Linked DNA regions of Homo sapiens: all the other regions are linked to region 1. The links are contacts of gene promoters, found by promoter capture Hi-C in blood cells and fetal thymus (Javierre and others, 2016). All regions are on one chromosome and are shown on one strand. Each heading gives the region's core, a stretch centred on a gene start or on the middle of the fragment in contact. The rest is flanking DNA. Distances are from core to core; before and after follow the strand shown. Region 1 holds the start of METTL17 (methyltransferase like 17). Region 2 has its middle 9.9 kb from the start of RNASE10. Region 3 has its middle 5.1 kb from the start of TRY-GTA5-3. Region 4 holds the start of EGILA (EGFR interacting lncRNA).

The links. The method cuts DNA at HindIII sites, captures the fragments that hold promoters and counts their contacts. A CHiCAGO score of 5 or more calls a contact.
Region 2: a fragment that was not itself captured here is called in contact with the fragment with the promoter of METTL17 in region 1 in 1 of 17 cell types (M0 macrophages); the score reaches 5.2 in M0 macrophages.
Region 3: a contact is called between a fragment that was not itself captured here and the fragment with the promoter of METTL17 in region 1, in 1 of 17 cell types (monocytes). The highest score is 5.5, in monocytes.
Region 4: a contact is called between a fragment that was not itself captured here and the fragment with the promoter of METTL17 in region 1, in 12 of 17 cell types (monocytes, M2 macrophages, M0 macrophages and 9 more). The highest score is 15.9, in monocytes.

Annotation. Positions count from the first base shown.
Region 1 is chr14:20,988,667-20,991,253 of GRCh38, forward strand. It overlaps METTL17 (methyltransferase like 17), which reads left to right and starts at 1,314. Exons shown (of 14, transcript NM_022734.3): 1 at 1,314-1,411; 2 at 1,564-1,717; 3 at 1,798-1,932. The coding sequence starts at 1,337. RefSeq lists a silencer at 961-1,090 and an enhancer at 1,841-1,890. The HindIII fragment of the contact is 15,587 bases long and covers 1-2,587 here.
Region 2 is chr14:20,494,297-20,496,883 of GRCh38, forward strand. No RefSeq gene overlaps it. Among named protein-coding and RNA genes, the nearest start is that of RNASE10, 9.9 kb to the right of the region's middle. The HindIII fragment of the contact is 946 bases long and covers 820-1,765 here.
Region 3 is chr14:20,646,816-20,649,402 of GRCh38, forward strand. No RefSeq gene overlaps it. Among named protein-coding and RNA genes, the nearest start is that of TRY-GTA5-3, 5.1 kb to the right of the region's middle. The HindIII fragment of the contact is 5,518 bases long and covers 1-2,587 here.
Region 4 is chr14:20,705,639-20,708,225 of GRCh38, forward strand. It overlaps EGILA (EGFR interacting lncRNA), which reads right to left and starts at 1,303. Exons shown (of 4, transcript NR_174964.1): 1 at 1,109-1,303. The HindIII fragment of the contact is 860 bases long and covers 884-1,743 here.

The DNA of each region.
Region 1 (2,587 bases), core at 64-2,563:
GTGTCAGCCTAGGATGTGTCAGTGGGCCATGCATTCATCTACAGGAAGGGCGGTTCCGCCTGGAAGAGGCAGAGCGGCCCTTCTCCCCCTGTCCACCCATGTCTCCTCACCCCACCTCACCCCGAGATGAGGAGCCCTGAGAGAGCTGGCAGGCTGCAGTCGGTGAGGTCTGCAGATTTGGGGAAGAAGTCGAATAAGGTAGAGAACCACAGAAGGAAAGTCCAATTAGGGCGCTGGGGCCTGAGATCATCAGGCCCTAGCCTGATGACTCAGGAGTCTAGCCCTCCAGATGAACTGGCTGGTTCCACACACAGGTCAAGTGGATGTGCTGGGAGAACATCCTAAACCTGTAACGGAAATTAGGGGGCCAGGAGCCCACAGAAATCACACACTGGGTGAGCTCAAGTGTTCGGAGACTGAGGTAGCAGTTGTCCACTGTCAGGTCCCGAAAGTAGATATCGCCTTGCATATGCCATTTATCCTTCTGATGCTCTAGTGAATGAAGGTGTTGATGAGCTTGCAGACTCTGGAGACCATTCCCCTATGCTATATTATCACGTCACAATAGTGGCTGGACCCACCTGAGATTCTGCACCTCAGGTAATCAGACGGCTACTGTCTAAGTCCTGGGCCTGGGGGAAACACTCTGACGTAGCAGCAGACACAGGAGGGTCCCCGTCAGAACCATGTTTTCTGTGAAGTGGGGATCAGTCCTTTTCCCTGAAGTACCTAGCACATAGGTGTTCTCAGTAAGTGTTATGTTAGCTTACTAAGAAGACTGGTCTCATTTGAAGAGAAATTAACAAATGTAAAAAAATAAATAAACCTATTAACTAGGTTTAATATTTATCAAACTATTAACTATTCAATAATCATTTAACTATTAATTTCTGTTTTCTTCAGTCGCTTAAATCTGATTTTTCTCTTCTTTCCGTTACTGCAGTCTCCCTTTTTCACACAGGGAAACAACCCAAGACTCAGAGTTCTCCGCGGAGGAATGCAAAGAACACAGGAAGTCAGTACTCCCAGAAACAGTCTTTGCTGGCGCGCTCACACCCAACCCCATCCCGCCCCCGTCCCGTCCCGCCCCGCCCCACCCCACCCTCTTGATTTCTGGGGCCGGTGACCAGGCCCAACGCAGCCTTCAAGTCGGCCCAAACACGGTTTCTGCCTCAAGGATTATTTATATAACCATTGCTTATTGGCTGCTGGCAAACACTCGCTCTTCTCGTTGGCTGAAACTGTCGGGAGAAGTTCTGCGAAGGCTGCTCCTTGCGGCGTTGGGACTGAGGGTCACAGGCACCTGTATTTCCGTTTCCGGTTCGCCTCCGGAGCCATGGCGGCGGCACTGAAGTGTCTACTGACATTAGGAAGATGGTGCCCCGGCCTTGGAGTGGCTCCCCAGGCCCGGGTGAGTGCCTACATTCCCTGCTGTCGGAGAGACTCTGGATCTGCAGAGACATCTCCGCGCAGAGGAGGAGCGCTCCTGGCAGCCCCCGCCCTAGCGATTGCCAGCAACTTTCCTTTCTGCCAGGAAATCAACCTACCTTTCTCTGCCTGCAGGCGCTCGCCGCCTTAGTACCCGGAGTGACCCAGGTAGATAACAAGTCCGGTTTCCTGCAGAAGAGGCCTCATCGCCAGCACCCTGGCATCCTAAAGCTGCCGCACGTGCGGCTGCCACAGGCACTGGCTAACGGTGCCCAGTTATTGCTACTTGGTGAGTAACGGCGGGAAAGCGAGAAGAAACGGGACTGGACCTACATGCAAGTGATTCCGCTTTTCGTCTTTGGCCCATAGGGAGCGCTGGGCCCACTATGGAGAATCAGGTGCAAACACTGACCAGTTATCTCTGGAGCAGACATTTGCCTGTAGAGCCAGAGGAGTTGCAAAGACGGGCTAGGCATCTTGAGAAAAAATTCCTGGAAAACCCAGGTAGGACTTAAGAATAATTAAAAAGTGGGCGAGATTGAAATATCGGTTAGAAATGAAGAGTAAGAAATAATTCTACAATCTCTCAGATACTGAAGTCTCTTATTTGACTTTCTAACCAGAGCAGCAGTTGTTACAATGATGCCTTACTAAAAGAAGGTAGATTATTTTAGAGATTGCTTAGGTAAAGGTCAGAATGTCCCAGTATACTGTTTTTTGTTTGTTTGTTTGTTTTGTTGTTTTGTTTTTGCTTTGAGACAGAGTCTTGCTCTGTCACCCAGGCTGAAGTGTAATGCTCGATCTCGGCTCACTGCAACCTCCGCCTCCCGGGTTTAAGTGATTTTCCTGCCTCAGCCTCTTCAGTAGCTGGGATTACAGGCGTGCACCACCACACCCGGCTACTTGTATTTTTAGTAGAGACGGGGTTTCATCATGGTGGCCAGGCTAGTCTCGAACTTCTGACCTCAGGTGATCCGCCCACCTTGGCCTCCCAAAGTGCTAGGATTACAGGCATGAACCACCGCGCCTGGCTACCAATATACTGTTAAAATCTAGATATTTATTTTTTTCTGCAAGTCCACTGGATTAGGACCTTCTAAGTTTTTATTCAGGTAAAATAAAGTCCCTGGATGGTCCCTGCCCAGTACTGAAACCCTCT
Region 2 (2,587 bases), core at 43-2,542, 490 kb before region 1:
GGAGCTTGCAGTGAACCGAGATTGCGCCACTGCACTTCAGTCTGGGCAACAGAGCCAGACTCCATCTCAAAAAAAAAAAAAAAAAAAAAAAAAAGAATAGTTTACTTTATTATAAAGGCTTGTGATCAAGTTGTGACAGGCTATTAGTATTGTTATTCTCCGGTGTAACTATTGATTTCAGCAATAATTTATGAGTGTAGTATTATCTTTAAAGTGAAACCCATGTTTATTTTTATGTGTTTATTTGCTTACACCTTCACCACCACAAGAAACCCTCCCACCCACCTTTTTTTTTAAGACAGAATTTCACTCTTGTCGCCCAGGCTGGAGTGCAGTGGTGCGATCTTGGCTCACTGTAGCCTCCACCTCCTTGACTCGATCCTCTTTGATCCTCTGGATTCTCTCACCTCAGTCTCCATGCCCAGCTAATTTTTATTTTTATTTTTTTATAGAGATAGGATTCTACCATGTTGCCTGTCACGTGTGTCCGTGTGAAGAGACCACCAACGGGCTTTGTGTGAGCAATAAAGCTTTTTAATTACCTGGGTGCAGGCGGACTGAGTCCAAAAAAGGAGTCAGCAAAGGGAGATGGGGTGGGGCTGTTTTATAGGATTTGGGTAGGTAGTGGAAAATTACAGTCAAAGGGGATTGTTCTCTGGCGGGCAGGGGTGGGGGTCACAAGGTGCTCAGTAGGGGAGCTTCTGAGCCAGGAGAAGGAATTTCACAAGGTAATGTCATCAGTTAAGGAAGGAATCGACTGTTTTCACTTCTTTTGTGATTCTTCAGTTGCTTCAGGCCATCCGGATACTTACACGTGCAAGCTTGGGCTCAGACGCCTGACATTGCCCATGGCTGGTTTGAACTCCTGAGATCAAGCAATCTAACTGCCTTGGCCTCCTGAAGTGCTGGGATTACAGGTGTGAGCCACCATGCCATCCAAGAAACCCATTTTTAAACTAAGAATGCCTTTTTCCATCAACTCATTTCCTCAACCATAAACATTTTGTGATTAACAGTGCCCAATTTCCTGGGAAAGTAACCCAGCAGGTTTGGCTTCATCTGGCCTTTATTCAAGATGAGTCACTCTGATTGGGACACCTCGAATACTGGTGCAAATACCCAAAATGAAACAAAACTGCCTGAACTTACTCATTACCCCCTTCCTTACAAAGCCAGCAGACTTCCTTTTTGTAATTTCCTTCCCCTTCAAGTTTCCTTTCCTTTCCTGTTCTTTCTTTTTTTTCATTCCTTTTTCCTTTCCTTTCTCCTTTCCTCTTTCCTGTCCTTTCCCCTTTCCTTTCTTTTTCTTTTCTTCTTTTCTTTTCTTTCCTTTCTCCCTTCCCTTCCTTCCCCTCCGCTCCCCTCCCCGCTTCTCCCTTTTCCCTCCCTTCCCCTCCCTTTCCCTTGCCCTTTCCTCCCCTCCTCTTCCTTCCTCTCCCTGCTCTCCCCTCCCTTCCTTTCCCTTCCTTTTCCTTTCCTTTACCTTTCCCTTCCTTTTCCTTTCCTTTCTTCTCCTTTCCATTATGGAAATTTTTAAACATGCACTGAAATTAGAAAGAAGCATATGATTTAATCCCCAAGTGCCCATTACATGCAGCTTCAACAGTAATCAACATTTTGCTCATCTTGTTTCATCTCTTCTCCTTATTTTGTTATTTTTACTTATTTGTTTATTGCTGCAGTATTTTAAAGTTAATTGTGAGTTTATTTTTAATGGAGTCTCTGTCTCCCCATGGTACAACTTGAGGCTGGGCAGAGGAAACCAAGCTTGATGAGTTCAGTGCCTCTGCCTGCCTCCCTGGCTCTCCATTGCCGCCTCACAGTTGGAATCAGGTGCGAAAGCTATTTCACAACCTGATATTTATTCTTCTCATAAATGTTGTTGACTACCTTCATTGTTCCACACACTTTGCTTGGCACTGAGGACAAGAAGAGAGATGGCATAGGAAGCTCTCAGCTCAGTGTGCTGGAAGATAAGTAAAAGGGCAATCCTGACGGTTTGGCCTGATTATTTCCACAGGTGGAAGAGTTTTATTTACCATATAGGCCTTCTTAAGTTTGCTTCGTAAATCTAGAGCCATATACTATTCACAAGGCCACAGAATGAACTTCTTTCTAGAAGTTTCCTTAAGAAATCTCAGACTGACTTTTAAAAGCCTCTATTATTTGCTGTTGTGAGGTTAGAAAAACCAAGCTCAAGAATCTCTTTCCACTAGATTTTTACCCACAGTACCTATACATTTGGATGAATTTCTTTCTTCTCAAGTTTCTCATATTTTCTTGAAGTTTCTTACCTGCCAAGAAGGTAAGGAACCAAGAACTAGGAAGTGACCTTCCTCACCTCCTGCAAGACTGGGACTCTGTAAGCCAGATCCCAGGTGGGTTTTTCTGAGAGGATTTTGTAGGCATTGGCTCATCAAAGCTGATTAAAGGAGCACCATTCTCAAAAGTGACATTCTGGCCCACACCTTGGTTGTGTAACTGTTTTTCTGTTATATCCTGGCAAAAAAGAGAAAAGATTCTTGCTGAACCTATTCAGATAACTATACTGTTATAAAAAGTAAGAAAGGAGGTAAGAGTTTCTGAA
Region 3 (2,587 bases), core at 88-2,587, 340 kb before region 1:
GCGCTGGGATTACAGGCATGAGCCACTACGCCCGGCCAAGCCACACGTGTTTTTAAACCTTAATCAAATCTTAAGGACTAAGGAAACTGCAGAAATAGATGAGATCAAAGACAGACAATTTGTTTAAAACAAACAAGCACACAGGCTGGGCTCAGTGGCTCAGGCCTGTAATCCCAGCACTTTGGGAGGCCAAGGCTGGTGGATCACCAGAGGCCAGGAGTTTGAGACTAGCCTGGCCAATATGGCGAAACCTCATCTCTACTAAAAATACAAAAATTAGCTGGGCCTGGTGGTGCCCACCTGTATTCCCAAGTACTAGGGAGACTGAGGTAGGAGGATGGCTTGAGCCTGGAAGGTGGAGGTTGCAGTGAGCCAAGATAGTGCCACTACACTCCAGAGCAAGACTCTGTATCAAAAACAAAACAAAACAAAACAAAACAAAACAAAACAAAAAACGCTATTTGACCAGTTGACATTGGCTTTGGTATTTAGCTTATAATACTTTTTCTTTTTTTTGATACAGTGTTTTTGCTCTGTTGCCGCCCAGGCTAGAGTGCAGTGGAACACTTTCGGCTCACTGCTACCTCCGTCTTCCGGGTTCAAGTGATTCTCCTGCCTCAACCTCCCGAGTTGCTGGGATTATAGGTGTCTGCCACCACGCCCAGCTAATTTTTGGAGTTTTAGTAGAGACAGGGTTTCACCATGTTGACCAGGCCAGTCTCAACTCCTGGCCTCAAGTGATCCGTCCGCCTCGGCCTCCCAAAGTGCTGGGATTACAGGCATCAGCCACCGCAACCGACCACTTATAATACTTTCAAACTAACTTGATCATAGGAATTTCCTAGTTTTTTTTAATGAAAGTAAACCATGTTAGAAGAAAAAATTGTATTTATTTTTAAAGCATACTCACATGGTTCAAAAATAAAAATGTATAAATTGAAAAGTTCTAGTCCCCCACATTCCTATTCACCCCATCCCCCTCGCCTAATTAACCATTTTCATTAGTTCATTGGCCTCCTTCCAGTGTTTTTTGTGTATAAACAAGGAAATAACTAAATGTTTACTTATTTACTTGACACTTTCTTACACAGTTCTGCACCTTGTTTCTTCTTTTCCCCTGGAAAACCTTCCCTGTCAGAAAATAAAGAACAAAAGAAAAATGTATAAACCAAGAAGACTACTAGAATGACACATCTATTGAATGAATGAGTTGCAACATTCTTGAATTACATGTCTGCTTTAATCATTGTTTGATATCTCTTTAGCTTCAATTTTCCTTACAAGTAAAAATCATATTGTAATGGAAACTGTATCAAAAAATCTAATTGACACTTTGTAAATAAAAATGAGCTAAAGTAAAATGAAATGATATCTGGAATTTTCTTCAAAATAAAGTGAGGGCTATAGATAAAACTTTCTTGGCCATGAACTGGGAATTCATGGAGCTATATGTCAGCTATAACTGTGGTTCATTATACTATTCTCTCTATTTTTAATATGTTTGAAATGTTTCATAATAAAAAGCCTCAGAAATATGTAGTGAAAATCAAGCATCTATTTCAAGAAAACTCTAAATTTTTAGAATACGATTTTCCCAGTTAAAAATTAATAAAGGTGTGAAATACTTCCCTGAATATGGAAACTCTAGTTCCACAAAATTAACCAGCCAGCCACTGGAGAATGTCAAATACCATGTGGGCTACTCAGAGCCAGAAAATGTAAAACTATAATGAACTACCAATTCCAAGAGGAACTTAACTTTCTCAGCAACAACCTGCCTTCTGGTTCAAAAGGAGTGGAGGCAATATAGAAACACACATAAACACAGAATCACAGTCTAGAATAAGTTTTTTTGTTTTTGTTTTTTTTGTTTTTCTTTGAGGTTGAGTCTCCCTCTGTCACCCAGGCTGGAGTGCAGCGGCGCTATCTCGGCTCACTGCAGCCTTCGCCTCCCGGGTTCAAGCGATTCTCTTGCCTCAGCCTCGTGAGTAGCTGGGATTACAGGCATGAGCCACCAGGACCGGCTAATTTTTGTATTTTTAGTAGAGAGGGGGTTTCACCATGTTGGCCAGGCTGGTCTCAATCTCCTGACCTCAAGTGATCCACTGCCTCAGCCTCCCAAAATGCTGGTACCACAGACATGAGCTACCGTGCTGGGCCTATGGAGATTTGATTGAGTTAACAGATTTCAGAACCTATCTTTTTCATTATGACAAATTCTTTAATATAAAACTTAACCTTTTTTCCTTTTCTTCCTTTTTCTTTTTCTTTTTTAACACATAGGAAAACAAGACAGAGTGCTATTACCAAGTCTCGTAGTAAGAGGATGTCTTTGTTCAGGCTGCTATAACAAATTACCATAAATAGGTAAACAACAAACATTTGTTTCTCACCATTCTAGAGGCTGGAAATTTGATATCCCAGAGCCAGCATGATGGGGTTCTTGGTGGGGCTCTTTCTGGTTTATAGAGGGCAGTCTTCTTTCTGTGCCCTCACATGGAGGAAAAAAAGCTAGCTAGCTCTGTGGCCTCTTCTTATAAGAAGACTAATTTCGTTCATGAGGGCTCCAGCCTTACATGCTAATGAT
Region 4 (2,587 bases), core at 64-2,563, 280 kb before region 1:
GAAAAAGGGGGACTCTGTATATTTTTAAATGAAGAGTGTTGTTTCTACCAAAATCACTCTGGCCTAGTATATGACAACATAAAAAAAACTCAAGGATAGCGCCCAAAAACTCACCAACCAAGCAAATAATTATGCTGAACCCCCTTAGGCACTCTCTAATTGGATGTCCTGAGCCCTCCCAATTTTTAGTCCTTTAATACATGCTTTTCTCCTTCTCTTATTTAGACCTTGTGTCTTCTGATCAGTTTCTCAATTCATACAAAACTGCATTCAGGCCATCATCAATCATTCTGTATGACAAATGCTCCTTCTAACAACCCCACAATATCACCCTTGATGCCCAAATCTTTCTTCAGTTTAATCTCTCCCACCCTAGGTTCCCATGCTGCCCCTAATCCCACTTGAAGCAGCCCTGAGAAACATTGCCCATTATCTCTCCATACCACCCCCCAAAATTTTTGCCGCTCCAACACCTCACCACTATTTTGTTTTGTTTTTCTTATTAATATAAGAAGACAGGAAATGTCAGACCTCTGAGCCCAAGCCTGCAAGTATACATCCAGATGGCCTGAAGCAACTGAAGAACCACAAAAGAAGTGAAAATAGCCAGTTCCTGCCTTAACTGATGACATTCCACCATTGTGATTTGTTCCTGCCCCACCTTAACTGATCAATTAACCTTGTGACATTCCTTCTCCTAGACAATGAGTCTCAGAACCTCCCCACTGAGCACCTTGTAACCCCTGCCCCTGCCTGCAAGAGAATAACCCACTTTGACTGTAATTTTCCACTACCTACCCAAATCTTATAAAACTGCCCCACCCCATCTCCCTTTGCTGACTCCTTTTTCGGACTCAGTCTGCCTGCACCCAGGTGATTAAAAAGCTTTATAGCTCACACAAAGCCTGTTTGGTGGTCTCTTCACATGGACGCACATGACAGGAGCAGAGATATATGAAGATGCTAGCTGCTTAAGAAGGGAAGTGTGAGTGTGTGTGTGTGTGTGTGTGTGTGTGTGTGTGCACATGTTTAAGGGCAAAACTGACAAAACTGAAAACATTTGAATTACAGCAGATACAGAAAGAAATCTTACCTGAACTTCTCTCACCTGACTAAAGCAGAGCCTCCCAGAAATGCCCCCACCATTATCTCCCTCCGGAGGGGTCCTCATGTAATGGTAATAGGTCTTTTGCCTGATGTGCACAGCATGTCAATATGCCAAGACACTGGGTTGCAGCAGAGAAAGAGGTTTAATTGCAGGGCTGCTGAACCAAAAGATGGAAGGAAACCTCAAATCCATTTCCTCAAAGAGTTTGAGGCTGTTGTTTTTAAGGATTTGGAGTAGGTGGAAATAAGAGATCACTAATTGGTTGAAGAATGCAGAGTGAAGTCATGGGACAGAGAGATGAAAAAACAGTATTCTCATGCTGATCAGTTCATCAGTTGGGCTCTTTAAAGTTGGTGGTGTCAGCTGTTCTGCCGGAATTCAGGATCTGCATAAACAATTCTTAAACAAAAGCCTTATGATTCTAATGTCAAAGATCTTATCTATGGGAACAATGAGAATGCAAATTATCAGTAGCTAGTGTTCGTGAGTTTTGGTTACAAGGAAGTGGGTCAAAGTGTAGCCTGATTAACACTTACTCATAATTATATTTTTGTCCAGGATTCTTGTTAACCGTGTGAGGATTACTTCACCCAGACAGGAGATATTCCAAGAAAATTGTGTAAAACTTTATCCAAAGCTTCTATTTGTCTTTCCCAAAAGTCATTTGTTTTCCTATAGAAGTCATTTCTCCCTCCTTCTTTTCCCCTATGAGTTGATAACTAAACTTCTGTCTCTAGCTCTTCATCAAGCCTCTTCATCTGAATGCTTCCACAAGTTATGAATACAACTTGTTTTCTTTCCCCCTGCTAACCTGTCTATAGTTAATTCACAGGCTCCCACCCACTGAACCAAAGTTGGTAGAGGGAAAGTTTTCCCTCCTAATAGCATGTCTGTGTATATTTAGAGTGAGAAAGAAGGATGAAGAGATAATTCGTCTTTGTCACCATCCAGGTAGTCATGGGAGTTGGGACCTGTGGTATAATAAAAAATAAATTTGAACTTAGTTCCTGGTTCCTGCCACAGACCTTCTAAAATGCTTGGAATTTCCTGAGTGATAGTGTAACCAAACTAAGGGTCAGCTGATCACTGCTCACTGCTCAAAAGCAAGACTTGCAAGACAAGAGTTGGTGCAGGAAAAGCAGGTTTATTCAAGAGCTAGCAACCTGAGGAGATGGTGGACTAGCGCCTCAAAGACTATTTCAAAATTTTAGGCTAGCTAAAGGGATTTTAAGAAGTAGGAGGCATGGAAACTATGAGCAGGAGTGGTGCAGGGTGCAGGTTTGCATGTCTTACTCTGATGGCTATCTTCAGTAACGGATCACCTGGAGGTCTGGCTGGCATCACCATGACTGCAACTAGCTTATGGATTAACCCCCCTCAGTGATTTTTCTGAGAATGTAGGATTCCACAATCTCAAATTCATGCCCGGTTTATTTCAAGATTAGCCCCTGGGTTTCTTAAGCAAGGATACGGCTAGAT